Linked DNA regions of Homo sapiens: region 2 is linked to region 1. The links are contacts of gene promoters, found by promoter capture Hi-C in human tissues and cell types (Jung and others, 2019). All regions are on one chromosome and are shown on one strand. The core of a region is centred on a gene start or on the middle of the fragment in contact, and the rest is flanking DNA. Distances in the headings are between cores, read along the strand shown. Region 1 holds the start of MRPL33 (mitochondrial ribosomal protein L33). Region 2 overlaps BABAM2 (BRISC and BRCA1 A complex member 2).

Region 1 (4,974 bases), core at 1,654-4,153:
AGAGGCTAAAAAAACACCTCCAGAGAGTTCAGATGTTCAGCCTACAAAGGGGGCAACAGGCCTTGGAAGCATTAACCTCCCCAGATCTTACCAACTGGATCATAATGCAAAAGAGTCAGTTTTTCCCGCAGTCGGTTTCTCTTGGTGTTGAAGCAGAAACCTGTCCCAGCTTCGCTCACCATTCTCACCAGAATGTTTCTAAGATTAAAAAGTACGCTGTTATGTACGAGCTGACGAAATAAACTAAAATCAGTCACAGGGGGATGGCACATTTTGAGAACTCTGTAGGGTAATATTAGTTGTGAGATATCACTTGGCCCTAAAAGGTTCAGTTGTAAGACAGCCTAAGTTTTCCATGAAACAGTTTCAATGGTTTCAAATCTCTAGGATTTGCTCCACTACACAGAGTTACTTCGCAATGACCTAACCAAAACAATAAGAACAATCAAGCCACATTGCGGGACTAGCCTCAGACATCCACCCTTCACGAGGAGCAGAAGTCAGGAAGGGGAAAATATCAAAATACTGGTAACCACAGCTGGCTAGTGAGGAAATTGTAAAGATCGCTGTCTCAGAACAGCCCTCTCTTCCAGGGCATAAATGATTATATTCAGGAAGGGACAAAATAAAGAGACTAAAGCTTTTAGTTTGCTAATGCGCAAAACCTTGTGCCCCTTCATATTTCATTTAAGTTCCACTCATCCAAAGCAGAAAGTCCATGTTTGCCTCACCAGATCTTTTAATACCTGTACTGTTTGTTATTTTTTCATGTGTCTTGTCTCCCCATGTAGACCATGTTATTTTATTTCTCATGTAATTCCAAAACAACCTGGAAGCATCTAAGACTATATTACACACCACTGCATTGCTTTCAACATTCAGCACAGTGCCTCATAAGAGGCATACAGTATTTGTTTGTAATTAAGATAGACAATAATTATTCAACACAGATTCAACAAATATTAAGCACTTACTCTGTGGAAGGCACTCTGGGAAATACAAAGCTCTACAAGTCTATGTCTATGTCCTCTAGGAGCTAACAGTACTGTATGGAAGGTGAGTTGGTACATGAGGTCAATCAGGCAAGACATATATGAAATATGTCACAAGGGTAGAAAGAACGAGAGTCAGAATATACCTCTACAGAAACCAAAGGCAAGAGATTCCTATAGATCCCTGGGGCAGGGAATTTTGACATAAATAACTGGACTGTGGCGAAAGCTACGTGAATCACTGAAAGATACTGGGAGGGAAAGCGCTAACATACATGTTTTTCATTAACGTTAATCCAAAAGACTAGCTTTAAGGATTTTCAATGTCTTGAGTTGCAAGGAAAAGCTGCTTTAGAACCTCCCTATTTTTACCACAAAATCTTCTGTTATTGTCTACAACATTTATTTTGAAATACAAGTTTGGTAGTTCTAGTCTCTCTGGTACAGCATGGAATCTTTAATCTTGGCTATTTTTGAAATGCTTATACCATGAATGCAAAGGATTACAAAACTCATTAAAACAGACTATGATTTAATCAAAGCAGAGTTTGTTCTTCTGGATTCCCGTAGTGAGCTCCAGACACATGGCCCCTGGTCCTCGATTTGAGGAAATGGAAATATGGTGGTAGTCCAAATACAGCACAGCCCAATGGTTTGTTTAGAAACAGACAGTGAGCTCACAAATCCTGGGACTAGAAAAGCAGCAAAGGTTCCTTCAAGTATTTCAATGCTCACAGAAGTAGCTCAGTTCAGCAGGAGGGAAAATATTTTTGAAAGAGTTCATAAAGAAAAAATAATCAACTAAGTAATCCACAAACCAACTCTTAGGAAATCAAGGCCCAATGCTTAATTTCATATAAGGATGTACTGGGAGCAGCTAGACTAACAAATCCAACATAAACAAGTGACGTTTAAAAAAGGAAAAATCTTTACTTACTTTGACTTGCTCTTGGCAACTTTTTTGTAGACAGGAAGGGTTGGAAAAGAAAATAAAAATATAAATGTATTCTCTTTCTTATGCAAAGTTCATATAAATATCAGTAATAACCAAAAATATTTAACTTATGAAATATGCCATGAGGTGTCACTCAAGTAACTATTCCCTATCTATTAGGGATCCCCTTAGGATTTTATAGAAGGAAGGTTAAAAGATCCAATCAGACCAACACAATTCTAGATTTAATATTTTGCATAATTTCATGACTGTTGGACTGGCTACCTTTTAAATCTTTCTAAAGTAATACCTGCTCCATTTTTTCCCTCTTCTAAGGTGCAAGTATTCGCGCTGCAGCAAGCTTCTTGTTTGACAAGTTTAACCTTTGCAAATTACAACAACCATCACATGTGGTGAAAACCAGATACTAAATCTAACTGGGAAGTCAGCCAAGGGTAAAGAAGAGCACTGACTCGGGAGCCCGAGGACTTCTTTAACTGCCCTGCCGCATTACTCAGGCAATTCATTGCCCCTCTCGGGAGCGGTTTCCTTATTTTTAGAGTTCGAAATAGGTGGGCTGCAAATTCTGAGGTCCTTCGGACAAAGATTCTCCTAACACGGGCTGGAGAAAAACGCCCCACAGCCAGACTCAACGGTCCGTGAGGACGGCAATTGAATCCAGACACCGCAGACCCCTTCTCAGGCACCCACAGGTCCGCGCAGGGAGGCGCGCCGCGGGGCATGCCGGACGCTGTGGTCCTGAAGGCCTGGAAAAGTACGCAGCTGCAGCTTCCCGTCCTGTTCGCACATCCTTCCCCGCATCATTCCGGGGCCCTGCCTGTCACGGCCCCCTAACCCTCGCCGTAACCCCTACCGGCGTCTCCAGCCCCACTTACAGAAGACCGCGGAGAGGAACATGGTGACCACACCTGGGCAGTCTCCGTCACCGGCCAAAAGGCCCCCAACCAACAACAACTGCTTCCGGGGCACGGCCCGGTTCTGGAAGAGGACATCCGGCAGTCGCCCGAGGCCACGCCCCCCGCCTGGAACCTGCCTCCAGTCGTCTGGCTCGTTCCTCGGTTTCTCAGAGCGAGTGTGTTTTGCTTTTGTCGTGCTGGAGGTTGGAATCCTCATCATTCTGGAAAGGGATTTACAGCTCAGGGTTCGCGCCCCGGCCCTGACTCCTATTTCTGGGTCAAGTGCTTTCAGCGTTAGGTGCTTTCCATATTTGTTTCACGAAATAATCGCAACCACCTGCATTAGACCCACAAGAACAACTGTGTATTGTACTTCGGCCGCTCCAGCGTATCAGCCCCTCGCATATTTTCTTAAAATGTTGCCTCCCCCGACCCAACTCCCTCTCCGCCTGGTTAAGCCTTACTCTCACTCTTCTGAGTCCCTTCGGCATTAAGAACCCCACCTTTCCTTAGTTATCCCAATCTCTAGGAGGGCAGGACCCTTTGCATCTCAAACTTCTGTATCCAAACACCTAGCACAGTTCCTGACATAGAAGCCAAATAACAGATTGAGAGCATTCACATCACGTGCCTAATATCACAGAACTACCAGGTGGCAGAGTAAGAATTTAAACCTAGATTTTATCTGACTCCAAAGACTCATGCCTTTCCCAGTAGACATTGGGACCTACCAGTTTGCAATCATTAATTTTTCATGGCTCTGTAAGGAACCTGGGCTCCTCTAACACCAAGGACCTCGTCAGTAACCTCATTTCGCAACTAATAATCAGGACTTTTGGATTTTTTTCCTAATCCGTGATTTGTATCTACATATGAAGTCTTACAGATGTGAAATAAGATTTAATCGCATGGCTCACGCCTGTAATCCCAGCCCTTTGGGAGGCTGAGGCAGGCAGATCACTTGAGGTCACGAGTTTGAGACCAGCCTGGCCAACGTCGCGGAATCCCGCCTGTACTAAAAATACAAAAATTAGCTGAACCCGGGAGGCGGAGGTTGCAGTGAGCCGAGATAGCGCCACTGCACTCCAGCCTGGGCGACAAAGTGAGACTCCGTCTCAAAAAAAAAAAAAAAAAAAAGTAATAAAACTGTTTTAAAGAAAATTCAGCTCTCTGTGCCATCACAAAGAAGATGAGGAGGAAAAAAATCAGCTCTCCATACAATACAATTCAATTTTTTAAATTAAGACCGTCCTTCTCCTTAGTACCTATAATACTTTTTTTCCTTCTAATCATTCTTGATATTTATCTTCCCATAACCGGACTCCAGCTACTGAGTACCTTCCAGGTGCCGAAATCCTTCCTTACCTTGCATTGGCAAAAAAGAGCTTCAGATGTTCAAGAGGATAAGGTTTCTTATATTTCCTTTAGAGGATTTATAAGAAAACACAAGACTGGAAGCCAAGGAACATGATTTCTAGTCCTTGTTCTGTCCCTTAGAAAGTCACTTTAACTTTAGCCCAGCCAAATAGCAGTTCTTAAACTCCATGCCCCTGCCCCCAACTCTATTCTCCTTACTCTTCTTTATGTTTTCCTACAGCACTTATTGCCATTAATAGTATTACTTGTGTACTTGTTGATTTCCCTATTGTCTTTGGCTACCAGAATGCTGGGCAACAGCAAAACCCTGTCTCTAAAAAAATTTTTTTAATTAAAAAAAAGAACTTCAGCTTATTCCCTCACTGCTGTATCCCTGGTTCCTACAACAATGCCTGCTACATCTATTAAATATCTATTGAATGAATGAATCTGAGGTGAGAGGCACCATACAAATGTCAATATTTATGTTTAAATAGCAAAAAAAAAAAAACTAACTTTAAGTATTGTCAATAGTTTCAGGATCCAGGAGAATGTATAAGCTTGCTTTTGAAAAGAGCCAGGTGCAGTGGGTCACTCCTGCAATCCCAGTATTTTGGGAGGCCGACGAGGGTAGATCACCTGAGGTCAGGAGTTTGAGACCAGCCTGGCCAACATGGCGAAACCCCATCTCTACTAAAAAATAACACAACTGGCCGGGCGCGGTGGCTCACACCTGTAATCCCAGCACTTTGGGAGGCCGAGGCAGGTGAATCAC
Region 2 (4,974 bases), core at 832-3,331, 140 kb before region 1:
CGTGCCTGTAGCCCCAGCCACTTGGGAGGCTGAGGCAGGAAAATCGCTTGAACCCAGGAGGCGGAAGTTGCAGTGAGCCGAGATCGTGCCACTGCACTCCAGCCTGGCAACAGAGCAAGCCTCTGTCACAAAAAAAAAAAAAAAAAAAAAAGTTTGGAGTGATTATTGCTATAAGAGTTACACAAAGGATTCTCTATTCTCAAGAACTTGTAATCAGAAGACAAAAATCAAACTATGAAAGTCACACAACACAATTTAAATAACAAGTCAAGACAACAATAGATACAAGTCACAAAGCAATTAACATGATTAATTGCCAAATTAGTGGTTAAAGAAAATAAACACAATAGGAGCGAAGAGAGCAGAGAAACCACTTTTAGCTTGGGTAACCAAGGAAGGTTCACTGGAATACAACTGGCCTCTAAGAATGCATAGGATCTGGCCAAGTGAGGGGAAGGAGAAATAGTTATGGGCAATTGTCTTTAAGTAAGGGCAAAACCTAAGAGACAGGCACTGCTAGACTGAAAACTCTAAGAAGAAAGAGAATGCATTAAACCCTGGATCCCTCAGTGTCCAGCAGCATACCTGCTGGCACACAGGAAGTACCTGAAAGCTATTTCATAAATACTGCAAGTGAGCAAGGTAGAGCTGGAGTGGACAAGGTCAAACAAGTTACAGAAATGTCCTGGACTGTTTGCTATTTCAACTGTGGGAATGCTGGTAATTATTACTCATATTAGTAAATGTTATATAAGAGATCCCCAGGGCCAAGGCCAACTTAAATACCATTTTCATACATTCAATGTACAGTGTTATTTTATAAGAAGTAATTTTTATACTAAACACTACTAATTTTCCAATGAAAATATTCCTGTAAACTTTTTAGGCCACTGTTTTTATGCCTTGATCCAAAACATGTCCTAAATGCTGCCTATTCTCTGAACTCTGGGGCTCATATTTTATATTATTTGCATACTATTTATCTAAATCCCATAGACATTCCTGATCCATATAGGGAAGGCCTAAGGAGTATTTACCTTGGCATGCTCCAATAGCTCTGATTCTCAAGGGAATGTACTAGCAGAGCTTTGATCTCACCCTGATTAGCTCTCATGCTACATGCTTTATTTATGTTTGTATCTCAACAATGCCTCACACTTACTTGGTGCTCAGTACATGCTTAACCTATCTAAAAAAATAAATTTGAATGAATATGGAAAGCACAAAAGCAGAGTAAAGGAAAGAATAGATGGAAAACCAGTGGAGATGGGGAGATAGGGAGATGGGGAGAAGAAACAAAAAGAAAATGAAAAAGTAGAGAGAGAGAATTGTAGTAGGAAACTGATGACAGGGTAGAGCCAAAAATAGAGAATTAGATAAAGAAGAGTGGGGAAGAAAGGAAAAGGAAGAATTAATAGATTCTGAAGTGTCATTAAAGGATTCCCTTTCCTGTTACTGAAAAGTGCTTTCTAAAGATAGAAAAAAAACGTTTTTTATATCTTCAAATTCTTATATTTAAATGATTATGAAAAGACTTAGCATCTGCTATATGAGCATATCTGGAACTACAGGGTAATGGGATAAGTGTGCCATCCACGTATTTTTGGTTGTTAGGTAGTTTGAAAGGATTTCGTTCTTAGATTGCGCTTGAGATGCTACTGTTATACACTATAAATTCTAAAGCCTTGTGCAAGTTAAATAATCTCTCTCGTCTTCAGTGTTCTCATTTGTAAAATAAGGATAACAGTCATGCTCCAGAGAGCTGTTATGAGGATCCACTGACTTGGTGCACATAAATAAAGTATTTAGAACAGTTCCTGGCACACAGAGAGCACTTGCTGTCACGAGTATTCAAAAGTACAAATTGCAAAACCAAAAAATAAGGAGGAGGAGAGTCTATCTCAAACACTATTTTCCTTAAACCCTTTACTTCACTGGGGCAATAATTTTCTGAGCTAAAAACCTCAATTGACCTCCTCACCTCTTCACCGGGCTACTTCATTTCTTCATTCCACAGACAAAAATTCTCATGGGGGTCCAACCATGAAAAGACTTAATCAGAGCAGTAAAATAATTTTCCAGTGTCCTAAAGCAAATCTAATGGAGCCCATCATGCCTCTCATGTTACACAGCAGAAATTTACAGGGAAACAAAGAGAAGAATATCAAGATGGGGCATGTAAATTGGCTGCAGAGCAAGCAGAGACTAGACAGAGCCATCAGAGAAACAAGGACAGGAAGCATCTAGTCTAGGCCAGAGGCTTTCAAACTTTTTTGACACATAATAAGAAATTTTTATATCACCATTTTATATCACCATCAGTAGAGATATCTGTACAGAGTAATATTATATATGCATATGTGTACATATATCTGTGTACGTGTTCATATATAAATTGAAAACAAAATTGTTAAGCAATGATACTTAGCTTTATTACATGACGTGTACTTTTGTTCCATTCTCTTCTGTTTTTTATGTAAATCAAGGCCCTCTAAAATGATTTCATAACACACCTAAAGGTCACAGCTATCAGTGGTTTGTAACCCACAGCTCTGTCCAGTACAATCTCACAGAAGGTAGCTTCCTGGAAAATGAAGATAAAAATACTCAACCCTACACTTGGTCAAAACTATTCCTTGAACACTTCATTCAGTTCTAGGTGTTACACTTTAAGAAGTATAGAGACTAACTGGATCACATTCAGAAGAAGCCAAAAAAGACAGGGAAGGACACAAATCCATGATAGCAGCAAAGGCTACATGTTAGCCTACAGAAGAAAGAACTATCAAACATGATAGCTATCTTCACTAACATGCAGGATCAATTAAGCTTGTTCTATATTGTGACAAGAGCTAGAAGTGGCAAGGCAAAGGGTTTCAGGTCAATGTAGAAAAGCACTATGTAACAGTATTAGCTGCCCAGGGAGCTGTGTTGGGACTCATGGAGCTTCCACATGACTAGAGATACTTACAGACAGCCTGAACAGTCACTTGGCAGAGAAGCATTAGAAGGGGTTCATAGATCATATGGTTAACATTAGAGTGTAATGCTTTCCATTCCTGAAATTCTATAATTCTGGTGTAGATTAAAACAATGTTATACTTTAATATGACTACTAAAGCTAACACTAGTTCTTTATTAAGTTTTTAATAAGAAATGAATTCTACCATGAACCACATGAAACAAAGTTGAAATGGTAAATGATATTTTCTTGTAACAAGAGAATGTAACAAAAATTGGCAATGTGCCTATCATAGTCATTAAAAATCTTCATCAGTTACAATTAGAGAAAAACTGAAGTGTTACCCAAATCACTGGCATAGTGTTTAAGACGTTCAACTTAGAAAATATAACTACATTACAGCTTTAAGAAGCAAACATCAAAAAAAGGTGATCTTTAAAATGTACAGAAATAAGAGTGTTTACAAAAGAAGATTGTATTATAAACATTCTCTCCTTGCCCAAAAGCCATTCTTTGGTGTGTGTAGATTTTATGTGCATTTTATACGTATAAAATATACGTGTAAATTCTCTCCTTACCCAAAAGCCATTCTTTGGTGTGTGTATATATATGTAAAGCATGGACAAAGTAACAATGTCCTCTGATTTTTTACTGATCCAACTAACTGAAAATTTGAGTTATCTTCAGAATAGTTTTTATTTGTATAACCATCTACCATATTTGTTTTAAAAAACAGTATCTCCAATTATCTAACATGTAGTTAGGAATTACTTATCAATAACATACTACTGTTGCCCCTCTGAGATAGAATTCTTAAGAAGGCCAACTCCTGGACTGTTAGAATGCAGAAATCTTTCTAGAATCGTGCTATTCAAAGAGAGCAGGTCCATGGACCAGTTCTGGTCTGTAAATTATTACTAATCCATAATAAGAAAAGTACAGAAAATGAGATAAGAATTTTAAAACTTTTACAGCAATGTGTAAGAATAAATCTGATGAATCTACTAATAAAAGAGTCAAGCCTTGTATTTCATGTCTTTTTCATTTCACTCTTCTAGCAATTCATTTTTATATTTTACAAAAGTATCAGCTGGTGACCAGCTACATTTTTTTTAATCTGTTCTTCCATCAAAGAGTTTGAAAAACACTTTTCTGAAGAATCTTTAGATGCTGAAGGTCCTTGGATATGAAGATAAGCTGCTTTACTTTGATGTCTTCTAATCTCCCTATTCATCTTGGTTTTCCCACAACAGTAACAAACATTAATTTATTTCTTTCCAAGTGTTCTTTTGATATCTCTACTAAGTTGACAGCAACATCAATATAGTTCACTGCCCAAAATTTATCATCAGGTTATCTGTCTGACTGCTCAGAACCTGTAACACTATTTCATTTCCATCCAGATGTAGCTCCAACATATTCTTGGATTCATTCCTTGCAAGAAGATATTAATAAATTTGACAAGCCAGTTTGAAGGGGTCATCCAATCTTGCAACATGACTGCTGGCATAATCTGTGGCAGTCTATCCTTTGGAACTTCTAAAGGTAGTATGGCTCAGTTTTAAATCCCAGGCCTTCTAAAGAGATCATCTAAAGTAATGGTCTCTCGCGTCCTGAATTCCTGCCAATCTACCTATAATTCCAATCTTCCATTTGAACTATATTGGTTCTCAGAATCCTTTTCTGACTTACATACTCTTTTAATTTCTTAAGTAAATACATACAAAGATAGATATAATAAACATATTTATAAAAACCTGCCAATGACAATTCCAAAAGATACTTTTATGATGCAAAAACATGATAAATACTATTCTTTAAAAATTAAATACATTGTGCTGTGCTGTAAGAAATTATGCCACAATGCCAAGAATTATATCACTAGTTTTAGTTAAGATTTGCAAAGTCATTCAAGCTTCCAAATCCTCAATAACTTTAATAATGGAAAAAAAAAAAGAATAAGGAGTCTGCGAATGTAGGTCAAAAAGCAAATCAGTGACAGACTTAAAATA

The links. Contacts are between HindIII fragments. The study calls those that stand out against the background at their distance.
Region 2: a fragment that was not itself captured here is called in contact with the fragment with the promoter of MRPL33 in region 1 in 1 of the 25 tissues and cell types used here (aorta).

The regions. Positions count from the first base shown.
Region 1 is chr2:27,769,648-27,774,621 of GRCh38, reverse strand. MRPL33 (mitochondrial ribosomal protein L33) reads right to left here and starts at 2,903. Exons shown (of 4, transcript NM_004891.4): 1 at 2,823-2,903; 2 at 1,930-1,948; 3 at 92-198. The coding sequence starts at 2,844. RefSeq lists enhancers at 2,722-2,851, 2,092-2,908, 3,142-3,261. The HindIII fragment of the contact is 4,142 bases long and covers 1,465-4,974 here.
Region 2 is chr2:27,912,192-27,917,165 of GRCh38, reverse strand. All of the region lies in intron 2 of BABAM2 (BRISC and BRCA1 A complex member 2), which reads right to left. Among named protein-coding and RNA genes, the nearest start is that of BABAM2-AS1, 24 kb to the right of the region's middle. The HindIII fragment of the contact is 8,075 bases long and covers 1-4,974 here.